3 separate regions of the Homo sapiens genome follow, and all the other regions are linked to region 1. Evidence: promoter capture Hi-C in 16 types of primary human blood cells and fetal thymus (Javierre and others, 2016). All regions are on one chromosome and are shown on one strand. Each heading gives the region's core, a stretch centred on a gene start or on the middle of the fragment in contact. The rest is flanking DNA. Distances are from core to core; before and after follow the strand shown.

The links. Contacts are between HindIII fragments. The CHiCAGO score rates a contact against its expected background, and 5 or more counts as called.
Region 2: a fragment that was not itself captured here is called in contact with the fragment with the promoter of KRT78 in region 1 in 1 of 17 cell types (naive CD4 T cells); the score reaches 5.0 in naive CD4 T cells.
Region 3: a fragment that was not itself captured here is called in contact with the fragment with the promoter of KRT78 in region 1 in 2 of 17 cell types (naive CD4 T cells and erythroblasts); the score reaches 6.6 in naive CD4 T cells.

What each region holds. Positions count from the first base shown.
Region 1 is chr12:52,845,923-52,850,243 of GRCh38, forward strand. It overlaps KRT78 (keratin 78), which reads right to left and starts at 3,072. Exons shown (of 9, transcript NM_173352.4): 1 at 2,625-3,072; 2 at 1,985-2,199; 3 at 842-902; 4 at 275-370. The coding sequence starts at 3,008. The HindIII fragment of the contact is 13,226 bases long and covers 1-4,321 here.
Region 2 is chr12:52,705,113-52,709,296 of GRCh38, forward strand. No RefSeq gene overlaps it. Among named protein-coding and RNA genes, the nearest start is that of KRT77, 3.7 kb to the left of the region's middle. The HindIII fragment of the contact is 2,096 bases long and covers 916-3,011 here.
Region 3 is chr12:52,608,888-52,612,942 of GRCh38, forward strand. It overlaps KRT73 (keratin 73), which reads right to left. Exons shown (of 9, transcript NM_175068.3): 6 at 2,317-2,442; 7 at 1,728-1,948; 8 at 360-394. It overlaps KRT73-AS1 (KRT73 antisense RNA 1), which reads left to right and starts at 964. Exons shown (of 3, transcript NR_126005.1): 1 at 964-2,540; 2 at 3,454-3,942. The HindIII fragment of the contact is 7,675 bases long and covers 1-4,055 here.

The sequences.
Region 1 (4,321 bases), core at 1,822-4,321:
AGCCTGGGCAACTGAGCAAGATTCCATCTCAAAAAAAAAAAAAAGCAATTTTTTTATCTGTAGTGATTTTTTTCTGGTTATTCATTGATGTATCCCCAGGACCTAGCAATTCACATAGTAAGTTTTCAGTAATTGGTTGTCAAGTGACTGAATGACCCAGAATCTAAGCCACCCTAACAGACTTCCCCTCTTGGCCATTCTCCTCATGGCCACAGGAAGCCTGCCCACCCAGTCCTCTCTCTTGGCTGCAGCCTGCCCTTTGGTTGAGCCTCACTTCTTCATTCAGATGCTTCAAGAAGTAGAGGTACTCTCTCAGAGCCTCCAGCTTGCCCTCCAACTCCATCTTGCTCAGGAAAACCCCATCCACATCCTGGAGACAAGGGGAGAGAGAACACGTAACCCCCTCTTCCTCTTTGGGGTCCCTACTCTGGCTCAGGAATTCTGTTCATGCACTGCTCAACACCCATCCACCATGCCTCCCAAGACCCCCTCCTTCCTCCTCCAGCCCCACTCTGTCCTGCTCTCTCCTTTGCCCAACATTGACCCAACATCACCTTCAGGAAGTCTTCCCTGATTAATCACAACCAGTTCTGCTTCTTCCTCTCCCTCCCCGCCCTCTCCTGCAGTGACATCAAGAGCTCGTCAAGCAGTCCTTTAGTCAGATCTTGCCTTGGGGCCCCTGTGTCTAGGCAGATGTCCCATTTTCCCAGGGGACCCCTGCAGGTAGAGTGATAGCCTGTCCTAAATCAGGACCTCCCACCTTTTCCCTCCCAGCCTAGGACTAGGCTCCGTGCACAGTGGATGCTCAGAACGTAAGTGGAGCACTGGCCCCCACCCTCACCTTCTTGAGGACCACAAAGTCGTTCTCAAGTGTGGCACGCCTGTGGGCCTCCTCCTCATACCTGCCAAATAAGTAGAGAAGGATGCAGTTTGAGGCTCCACGGTCAGAGCTCATGCCCCCATGTCCGAGCATGACCTCCCTGAAAAGGACTCCTTGCCTTAGAATGCCCCCAAACAAGACAATAACCAGCCCTTCTCTCCTTTCCTGCCACGTCCTAGCTATGTACCTGTGCCACCCTTTCAGCCCATGTCCTTTTGATGACGACAGCCACATTGTTTCAGTTTATAAGGCACATTCGAATACCTTTTCCCACTTGCTACTCACACCCATCACTTGAGGTAGGCAGTTTGGGTTTTATCAGAGAGATTAGATGATTTGACCAAGACCCCACAGATGACTAGGTAGACAAAGCAGAGCCAGCCCAGGTCTTCTGACCCCAATCCAGGGCTCCTTCCAGAACCTTCCTTCCTCCACCTCACATCCCATTATCCCAATAGCCCTGGGAGGCCAGAAGGGCAGGTGACATTTCCCAAGTTTACAGAAGGGAAACCAAGTCCGGGAGAGATGAGATGCCTTGCCCAGGATGCACAGCTACCCCTCACTCACAGTTGCCCCAACCCAAGCCCCCTATTAGTCCAGGGCTCTCTCCACTCCACCAGGTGACCTAGGCGTGGAGCCCAGAACCACAGCCCATCTGTGAATTGTGTCACAGGCCTGGGGACAGCCCCACTAAATTGATTCCCTTCCCTCTTTGGAACCAGAGAACATCTGAATCACTTTAGCCCACAGCCCGCTGAACAGGAATTTCTCAAGAATAAAAAAAGCCACTGGGGCATTGTTTAAATAAGCCCTTCCCAGCCTTGACCGGAAACATGGGCCCTTGTAGCTGGGGCATGTAGGACACCGGTCTCCCTGCCTTTCCTCCAAGGTTCTCCAGATCTGCTTGGGGACTGCGGGACACCTCGTTTACCTGTAGCAGGTGGGCACCTGAGAGCCTGGGGAATGGGGACGCGGAGGGGTAGAGGGGAGGCCAGTCATGTGCCTCTGGGTGCTCAGTATGTGGGACACCTCCTGGCTGACAGACCCAAACTGAGTCATCCCAGACCCCGCCCACATGGCATGGGGAAATTTCAGTGTGCCTACTTGGACTTATACTCCTCCTCCTGGTCCCGGCAGGCCTTCAACTCAGCATCCAGAGCCCCTCGTTCTCCCTGGAGCTGCTCCAGCTGCTTCCTGAGCTGATCCAGGCAGGCCTCAAAGACAGGCTCCAGGCCCTGCTGGCTGCCACTCAACCCCTGTTGCTGCAGCAGATGCCACTTCGTCTCCAGGACCTTGTTCTGCTGCTCCAGGAACCGCACCTGCAGCAAAAGCAGAGGATCCCTGAGGCTCCTGTGGGACTCCCTGTGCACAGCCTCTGGAAAGTAAAGCCTGAGGGACCCTCCCATCAGCCTCACCTTTCCCCTGTCCCCCTGCCCAACCTGGGCAGGGGAAGCCTCATGACCTTCCATGACACTCTGAACACAACAAAATGACTGGACTGACTAATGGGGCAGGGCCTTCCCCCCGCTGGCTGGCAGTTCTCTGTCCCTGAGCCCCAATCATGGAACAACAGGGCCTCAGCATAGCCAGAGAGAGTCCAGTTAGTCCACAGGAGGGACTTCTTTGCTGCAGAAGTTATTAGAAAAGTGGTAGAAGGAGGCCAAACTTCCCATTTCCAAGTCCATCAAGAGCAGCTCCTCCAAGGGAGGCACAGAGACAGGGGCTTGGCTGAGTTGACCCTCACCTTGTCAATGAAGGAAGCAAACTGGTTGTTGAGGGTTCTGATCTCCTGGGTCTCCTGCGTCCGCACCACCTGGAACTGGGGATCGATCTCAATCTTCAGTGGGGTCAGCAGATTCTGGTTGATGGTCACTTCTTGGATGCCCCCCGGAGGGCACAGGGAGAGCCCAGGCCCACCACTCCACTCCCCAAACCGCACCCCCAGCCTACCCCCTGACCCCCAGGTACTCCCACGAGAGCCTTCCAGGCACCCCCCAAAGGAATTAAGGCTCCTGCTGCTGAAGCCGCCCCTGCTGCTGAAGCCTCCCCTGCTGCGGCCCCTTGAGCGAGCAGAACAGGCTGAGCGAGCGCTGAAGCCCCTCTGGGCCCGGCATGGGGAGAGAGACATGGCAGAGACAGACAGTCACGCAGCTGCAGACGGACAGACAGATTGTCAAGGTGTGTGAGTTTCTGCCCTGGGGCCCCAGCACGAGACTTTTATCCACTCCCGTACCTGGGCTGGGCCTTGGAGAGCAAGATACTCTTGACCTGACTGTGTCTGTCACTTGGCTCCAGCTGACTTACTCTGACGTGCCTGGAGAATAAGTGTCCGGCACGTGCAGAGCCAAGGGAGAAGGAAACCCAGACCCTGCCCTCAGAGCTCCCAGGCTGTTGGAGAAATAGGCATGCCCAAAGACAAGGAAGCAGGCAGGAGACTGGGATGTCAGTGCTGAGGGACAGGGAGGGATGGCCGGAGCAAAGTCACTGAGGCCCTCAGGGAAGGCTTCCTGAAGGAGACAGGGAAGCGAGAGGAGGTTGAAGAGGAAAGAACGCTAGAAGGGGTTCAGAGGAAGCATCAGAGTGCCCTGGATTCTCAAGGGAGAATCTGCCTCAAGGAGTTGGAGAAGGAAGGCACTTGCAGCGCCACAAAGAGAGGAGGTTAGTGGAGGTGTTATTGCCATAGTTGGCTAAAAGACACTCCAGGATTTGGAAATGAAACAGAAAAACAGGGTTTCCAAGTCCTTCCTCTTGCCCAACCCAGCAATCATCCATGAGGCACCACCCACTGAAATCAGGCATCTCCATCCAGGATCGCATGGGACAGCACGTTTCTGACCCAGCCTGTGGCTCTGCTCCTTCCACAAGCACTTGGGGCCAGGCCCATCCACCTGCCATCAGGCTCCGCTTCCTGAGGTTACAAATCAGAGCCACCCAGGCTCTGAAATGAAATGTGCATTTAGGGCCGGGCACAGTGGCTCACGCCTGTAATCCCAGCACTTTGGAAGACCGAGGTGGGTGGGTCACTGGAGGTCAGGAGTTTGAGACCAGCCTGACCAACATGGTGAAACCCCATCTCTACTAAAAATACAAAAATTGGCCAGGTGTGATGGTGCACACCTGTAATCCCAGCTACATATGAGGCTGAGGCAGGAGAATTGCTTGAACCCAGGAGGCAGAGGTTGAGCAGTGAGCCAAGATCGTACCACTGCACTCCAGCCTGGGCAACAGAGTGAGACTCCATCTCAAAAAAAAAAGCAAGGTGCATTTAGAAAATACTCCTAAGCTGGGAACGGTGGCTCACGCTTGTAATCCCAGCACTTTGGGAGGCCTAGGCGGGTGGATCACGAAGTCAGGAGATCGAGACCATCCTGGCTAACACGGTAAAACCCCGTCTCTTAAAAATACAAAAAATTAGCCAGGCGTGGTGGCAGGCACCTGTAA
Region 2 (4,184 bases), core at 714-3,213, 140 kb before region 1:
CTTATCGTGCCACTGCACTCCAGCCTGGGCAAGAGAATGAGACCCTCTCTCAAAAAAAAAAAAAAAAATGCAGATAAGACAGACTTTGTGAGTAACTAGAAAGTGAGTTGATTTATTTAGAGACTGTGGGAGGAGTTTTCCTAGGTTCTTTTGTTTGTTTGCTTATTTTTTTGAGACAGAGTCTTGCACTGTTGCCCTGGCTGGAGTGCAGTGGCACAATCTTGGCTCGCTGCAACCTCTGCCTCCTGGGTTCAAGCGATTCTCCTGTCTCAGCCTCCTGAGTAACTGGGATTGCAGGTGCCTACCACCACGCCTGGCTAATTTTTTGTATTTTTAATAAAGACAGGGTTTCACCATATTGGCCAGCCTGGTCTAGAACTCCTGACCTCAGGTGATCCACCTGCCTCAGCCTCCCAAAGTGCTGGGATTACAGGCGTGAGCTACTGTGCCCGGCTGAATTTTCCTGGTGTTTTAAATGTCCTTTTTCTTTATGTTCATTGCAATAAATATTTTTTGCTCACGCCTTTAATCCCAGCACTTTTGGAAGCCAAGGCAGGCGGATCACCTGAGGTTAGGAGTTCGAGACCAGCCTGACCAACATGGAGAATGCCATCTCTACTAAAAATACAAAAAATTAGCCGGGCATGGTGGCACATCTGTAATCCCAGCCACTTGGGAGGCTGAGGCAGTAGAATCACTTGAACCCAAGAGGCAGAGGTTGTGGTGAGCCGAGATTGCACCATTGCACTCTAGCCTGGGCAACAAGAGTGAAACTCCACCTCAAAAAAAAAAAGAAAGTTGTGGCAGAAATCCCAATAGAGGTGGGGAAGAACAGGTGGTAGAAACAAGAGCACTGTGGGGGCGCCGCAGTGAAAAGTCATCCTGGTACAGGGAAATGCTCCAAGGGCAATTCCAAGCTTCCACACCCTCTTCTCATGAACCTCTGCATTCCGTACATGGTATCTGTTCAGTGGGTCATCCAGGAGACACTGTGTGATAGAGGAGACAATGAGCCTGAAATTTATAGGCAGAAGCTCTGCTGCTTGCTGGTTGTGTCTAGAGCCTCAGACACTTAAGGAACCTAGAGCCTCTCAGACACTTAAGGAACCAAAGTGTCTATTTCTCAAGGATTCAAAGCTATATATAAGTCATGTGGGGAGAAAAAAGCAGAGCACTGGAATCACTAAACAAGCAGAAATAGCTGCTCACAGATCCTGGTGGGATGACAGCTGTCCTGCTTTGCCTAGGATTTTCAGTACTTAAACCAAGATATACCTGGGCAAATCAGAACAGTTGGTCACCCTAGTCCTAGGCACCTATGGTCCACACAGCCATACTCCTAACCCTAAGGTAAGAGAGGGAAGCCAGGGCCTAGCCTCCAGCACAGAGTGACAAGGAGAGAACCAGTAGAAGCAGAGGAAGGAAAGAGAGGTGAAGCTAGGGAAAGGGGTGGGTTCATGTGAGAAAGCTGCCTGAAGACCAGGATTCTGAGTCAGATATCAGAGGAGAGGCAGAAAGAACAGAGCAGGGGGAAGAAGTAGGGGTCTGGCTGAGAAAATGGGGGCTGATAGGAGAAGGGACAGTAAGTACCAGACAGGAAACAGCAGTGGTGTGGCGAACAGATCCTTGAGTTGGGCATCTTGAAACCCAGCTCTGACTCCTGGCTCCGCCCCCTCCTAGCCCCATGGCTGGGACACTTGACTCCTTGAACCTCAGTTTCCTGACCTCTAAAATAAAGAAAATAGTAACCAGGCGGGCACAGTGGCTCACACCTGTAATCCCAGCACTTTTGGAGGCAGAGGTGGGTGGCTCACCTGAGGTCAGGAGTTTTGAGACCAGCCTGGCCAACATAGTGAAACCTCGTCTCTACTAAAAACACAAAAATATATAATCCCAGCTACTTCGGAGGCTGAGGCAGGAGAATCGCTTGAACCTGGGAGGTAGGGGTTGCAGTGAGCCGAGATGGCGCCACTGTGCTCCAGCCTGGGCAACAGAGGGAGACTCTGTCTCAAAATATATATATATATAAAATAACAGCTTTGTAGAGTGATAGTAATGAATGGCTATGAACAAATATGGAAGAGCACTTTGCAAGCCCCAAGGAGTCACACAAGTGAGGTTCTGTTCCCCAACCCCTCCCTGTGAACCCACCTCTCTCTCCGGCTGCACCACTCACTTTCAACCCCACCTCCTCCTCATGAAGAATACACATAATTAACCCCTTCGCATCTGTCTCTACTGCCACCTAAACAAACAGGAAGCTCCTTGCTGTTGGGACAAGACTTCATGGACCAGGAGCCCCTTTCTTCCTGCAACTGCTGGGCAGAGTGGGCCAATAACAAAGGCCTTCATGACTGAGCTAAAGTAAAGAGACGTGGACAGCTTAGAGAACCAAGAGCTTGGGCCCCACAATTAAGTGCCCCTGGAGTTAAAGCCCAGCTCCCCCCATGTACCAGTTTTATGATTGAACTAATCACTGAGTTCCCTGAACGCTATTCATCTGACCCTTAAATAGAGCACTTGAAGACAACAAATATTTTAAAAGGCTTGCTCTTACGAGAGGTGTTATTGTGTGGCTGTGGCTACAGCATTGAGACCTATGAATGCGATGAGAGTTTTTAGAAAGACAGGCAGCTGGAAAAGGCTTCACAGAAGCAAAGGCAAGCTCAAGCTAACCTCGAAGGATGTACTGTAGGCCAGTGAGAGGGTGCTCTGTTGTAGGGACTGGGACTGGGAAGGACCAGAGAAACTGCTCGTGCCAAGGCCTAGAGAAAGGAACGGGCATGTGAGGGGGTGGGATGGGGGAGCCATGAAGAGGCCCCCTTGCCTCGAGGGAGCAACTGGGAAACCCTGAGGCCTGAGTTTGGCTTCGGTCACAGAGGGCTCCAGCAATGTCTTTGAGTGGAATTTGTTCAGCACTCGCCCAGGTTTCTATATACTGTCATGCTGAATGTGAAAATATTCCATTGTGATAACATAAAAAAGGAAGTCCCGGACAGCAGAGTTTAGGAAGCTTCTTTGATCTCTGTCTATGATCAGCTTTCAGCATTCAATGCCAACATTGTCATCTACCTCCCGTCAGCTGATGGCCCCTGCTGGGCTGTTGTCATCCCTTGAAGGGCTTGGGAGGGGAGGAGGGACACACCCACTAACTGAGCTTTTGGTGGAGGGTGATAGCTATGCTCTACTTCCTCAGAAGAAAAAAAAATGACTTAAAGTGAAGCACGAGAGATTTTGCTTGTCTCAAAGGAAGTGTTTCAACTCAGATCAATATTAGTGGGTAAATAATGTTCCTAGGACGAATCACTACCCCTAAAAGAAACTCCTCAGCTGGTTAGACTGCAGAGAGCAGCGGTTTCTAAACTGGCTCACACTGGAATCACCTAGAAAGCTTCAAAATCGCTGGTGCCTGGGCCCACACCTAAGGAGTAGAGTTTAATTGGTCTGGGGCTATGGTCTGGACTTTAGAATTTTTAAAAGGTGGTTTTAATGTGCAGCAAGTTTGGAGACCACTGACCTGGAGGAAACAGGACAAATGAAACAGCCTCTTTAGATTCCATTCAGTCTAAGGACACAGATAGGAGTAACAATCATTATCATAATAGTGAACTTCACCAGGTGATTTCCATGGACCATGCACTGTGCTGTCTATAACATGGAAGGTCTCGTGAAATCTAAATACCAACATCATAAGGAAGATATTCTTACTATGTTCATTTTGCAAATGGAGAAAGTGAGACTTGGAAAGAGAATCTTGTCAAAGAATACACTAATGAAAATAGTGGAATGGAGATTTGAACCCGCGCATTCCCACTTCAGAACCTACATGTATTGCAGAAGAGATGGGGTCGTTGGAGAGAGATGTGCCCGCTTCCTCCTCTCCCCACCTGCCACCTTAAAAGGAAAGTGGGAAGTTAGTTGAAGGCTGCAGCTCACCCAGCCCATCTCCCAGTTACTGAAACCCAGGGCTGCCAAGAAGGTGAGGCCCAGAGCAACTATCAGCCACCTGGATCACAGTTCCAGACAGCAGCGGGAAGCAGGGTTCAGAAGAGCTGCTGGCATGACCAGCAGGAGCAGCTCCCAAAGCTCTATCCCCCACCTCACCCTACATTTCCCAGGGTCTGGAGGTGGATATCACAGAGGTGTGTCAGGGGCGTGGGGCTGGAAAAAGGAAGGGAGAGAGA
Region 3 (4,055 bases), core at 1-2,500, 240 kb before region 1:
ACACACCAGTCTCCACTCCCATTGAGGAGGCACCACTCTGTGCTCAGTTTCCTTCATGCAGGAGAGCCGGTGTGGGGGTGACAGAAGAGGGGAGGGGCTGAGAGTTTCACCACAGCAGGCAGGAGATTGCTATGAAAGAGGCTAGTGTGCAGTATCAGAATGTCCTGGGCACTAGCTCCACCTGGAAGAAGTAGCTCTGAATGGGGAGGCCGCAGGTCTCAGCAAGGAAGGTGAGTATGTGACCAAGTGGTCAACAGGCAGAGCCAAGCTCTTCCTCAGGGGGCTGGGCGGTGGACACCCACCCACTTTGTGTTTGTTGATGGACTAAAAGTATTCCCTCAGAGTCATGAAATACTCACAAATGCTCACGGAGTTGGTATATTCTCCGGACATCCTGCAAGAGAGAAAAGCACAGGAGAGTCTGAATCACGTGGACTCCCATAGTGGCCCTCACTGCCTAAACACAGGCTGGGGATCCCCAGCCAGACCAGCTCAGCCTTCACGCACCCCACACTTGCCAGATGGCACTGGCTGCCCTTGCATGTCTCTAAGCCCTCCCTCTCGCTCCTCAATCTACTCTTCCCACTGCAGAGATGTGGAACCTGCAACTTTGGAACCCCCAACAACATTACCACCCCCAAGGTCCCTCCTGCAGGGTTTCTCTTGAACCCATTTCTTTACTACTGTGAGCAGCTGTCTGAATAAATACATATGTGGAAAGATCAGGATCAGGAGTTGCTACTAATGAACGAACTGTATGATTTTGGGGCAAGTGACTTCTCTCCAGGTCTCAGTTATAAAATGGTGCTTGGTTAGAACAGGGTTTTTCAAATGTTCATGCTTCGTGTGCCACCCTTCTGACTGTTGCTAGGACCATGTTTGACTTGTACTGTTAGATATTTAGTATTTTTAATTGACTCTGCCTTTTACGACAAAAGTGCATTTCTTTTAAAAAGAAGTTTTTTATCACCAGGGTAAATAGAAACCAGTATTATTACCTAACCAAATAAGAAAAAAAGTAGCAGTAAAAATAAATATAATGAAAAGAAAACAATTTAAAACTTTTGGGCTAAATAATGCTATTATTTTCCCAGAGATGCTGCACCTGAGATCTACTGTCTCTTTATCAATAGGGGATATTTGTAAGTGTCTGAGAGGTGTTTTTGTGTTTTGTCTGTTTGTTTGTTTGTTTGTTTGTTTGTTTTTGAGATGGAGTCTCATTCTGTCACCCAAGCTGGAGGACAGTAGCAGGATCTCAGCTCACTGCAACCTCAGCCTCCTGGGTTCAAGCGATTCTCCTGACTCAGCCTCCCAAGTAGCTAAGATTACAGGCATGCACCACCACATCCAGCTAACTTTTGTATTTTTAGTAGAGACGAGGTTTCTCCAATGTTGGCCAGGCTGGTCTCAAACTCCTGACCTCAGGTGATCCACCCGCCTCAGCCTCCCAAAGTGCTGGGATTACAGGCACGAACCACTGCGCCTGGCCATCTGAGAGGTGTTAAAGACACAACAGCACCCAGCTAAGACTTTCTCCAAAGAGTCAAAAGAGAACTGTAAAGGAAATTGCTGTCACATTATCTGGCAGGATGCTGTTTGAAACTATGCTTGTGGGTGAAGTAAACACATCGCCAGCTCGCCGCCCCCTCCCCCCCGCCCCCAACCACACTCTGGGAAACTTTAAGGTGGAGACTTGCAGTTTCTTCCAGTCCCTCGGTCCCACCCACCTGCACTCCTCGCCCTCCAGCAGCTTGCGGTAGGTGGCGATCTCAATATCCAGGGACAGCTTCACGCTCAAAAGCTCTTGGTACTCGCGCAGCATCCGTGCCAGCTCCTCCTTGGCCTGCTGCAGGGCGCCCTCCAGCTCATCCAGCTTGGCCCTGGCATCCTTGAGGGCACAGTCCCCCCGCTGCTCGGCGTCAGCGATGGCCGTCTCCAGGTTGGCACACTGGGGTCAGGAGGTAGCATTTCTCCCTGAGTTCCTCCCTGGGCCTCGCTTCACCTCTCCCATGCTCTCAATGGTTGAGCCCTCCTCTGTCCTGCCCCATGTCCTGGAGCAGAGACCCAGCCACATCCAGGTGGAGTCCTGTCAACCTGAGACTGAGAGGCTTGCTACGCTGGGCCCCACAGCTTTATGAAAATAATCTGCAATTGTTCCAAACTTCAGATGGGAGCTAAGGGTGAGGGATGAGAGCAGGACCTCCATTTGAAGAAGGGGATTCTGAAATGGATGCTCAAGAGAAGGAGGGGGCAGGGGGTGCTAAGCAGTTCACCCCTCCCTTAGGAGTGAGTAAGGAAGGCTCCAGTCCCCTTCACCTGCTTCTTCACACTCTCAATCTCCGAGCGCAGTCTTTGGATGAGACGGGTCAGCTCTGAGATCTCATTTTTGGTGTGTTTCAGGTCATCCCCATGCCGGCCGGCTGCTAGCTGCAGCTCCTGGAACTAGAGGAAAAGGAACCAAAGCAAGAACACTGACTCAGGGCTTGGCTGGGATCAGCCTGGTACAGAGACTGTGCCTGCACTTGCAGAGCCTGGCAGAGGTGGGTCCAGGTCCCCCGCCTCACCATGTCTATCAGCAGCCTCCCATTAAAGCATTGGGCCATTGCATTTGCTTGCCTTAAGCACAGCTGATCTCATGGATGGTTAGAATTGGCCATAAGGACTGTTGAATGTCCCAGACTCTCCATATGGCAACTTTATAACACACTACTCCAATTATGACGTTCCTCTGCCTATCGTCCTTCAAAGTCAAGGTCAAATTCAAACTCTTACATGGCATCCAGGGGCTCATTTCTTTCTGCCCTTGCCTAACACCTATCTGACTCCCAAGCTCGGCCAAACAGTCCCACACTTCCCCCAGATGTCCCACGTGTTCTTTTGTCTCTGAGTCTTTGCCTGAGCCTCTCCTCTGACCTGAAAAACCCTCCCCCATCCATCCTCCTTTTTCCCTAGCTAGCTCCAACTTAACCAGTGCAGAGTCCCTTCCTCCATGAGGCCTTCCGTGATGCCCTGGTTGGGTGCAATTCTATTCCGTTGCCACTGGCACACCAGTCCATAGGTCTCCCCACACTGTAGTGTATTGTGAACCTGTTTCCATGTGTTCTCCATCCGACCCAGAATGAATGGATGACAGAGACTTTTTCTTTTAACTTTGAATTCCCAGTACCTAGCATAGTGCCTAGTTGGTGCTCAAAAAAAGTCTGATGAATGAATGAGTGAGCCAATGAGCTGTCCATCTGTATTTTCTGTGACTCCCTCCCTTTGATACCTTAGCTGGGCCCCAGCCCACAGGCAGCTTTCCAGGGCTGGGATGGAGGGAGGGATTAGCATGGAGGAACATTTTGTGTGCATGATGGGGGTGGATTCAGCTATACCCCAAAACCACTAGCCATGAATTTTAGGTCATCTACTAATTCGGGATTATTTCTGTCTTTGTTGTCATCTATTAAACAGTCACAGAGAGTACATCAGTTCTACTCAGAATGTGGCTCAAGGGGAAAACAAAACAGGGACCCTTCAGCACTCTGGTGTACTGCTCTGTCTCTGTCACTGGGTGCTCCACCCCAGCATGGCCCAAGATTTAGGATTGTTCCTAAAGATGTCAAGTTATCCAGAAAGCAGAGAAGGCAGAAGGGCTTCTCTCTTCACTCCTTGTATTTTATCTTTGGTGCCAACCCTAAACAAGGGGCCTTCTCCTGCTTCTCCGCAAGGCTGTGTGAGCAGGATGCCTCCCCGTACACTGGTTCTGACACCAAGCAGCTTCATTCTGAGGCAAACAGATGAACATCTTCCTGCCACTCCTCTGTCAAGCCACACAAAGCCCTTAGAGTAAATGCTTCTTTCCCAGAGTCACCTTCTGATTTTCTGCCTAAATGCAGTGGAATTTGAAGTCAGTCACCTAGATTCTGATCCAGCTGCGTCACTTGTCAGCTATTGCCTTTGGTAAGTAGCTTGAACTCCCTGGGCCCTACGTTCTTTATCTTTAAAAAGGAATCATCAAAATAAGCAATAATAATACTGTTATGATTCTGGGCATTCCTGACCCTAGCTTGCAA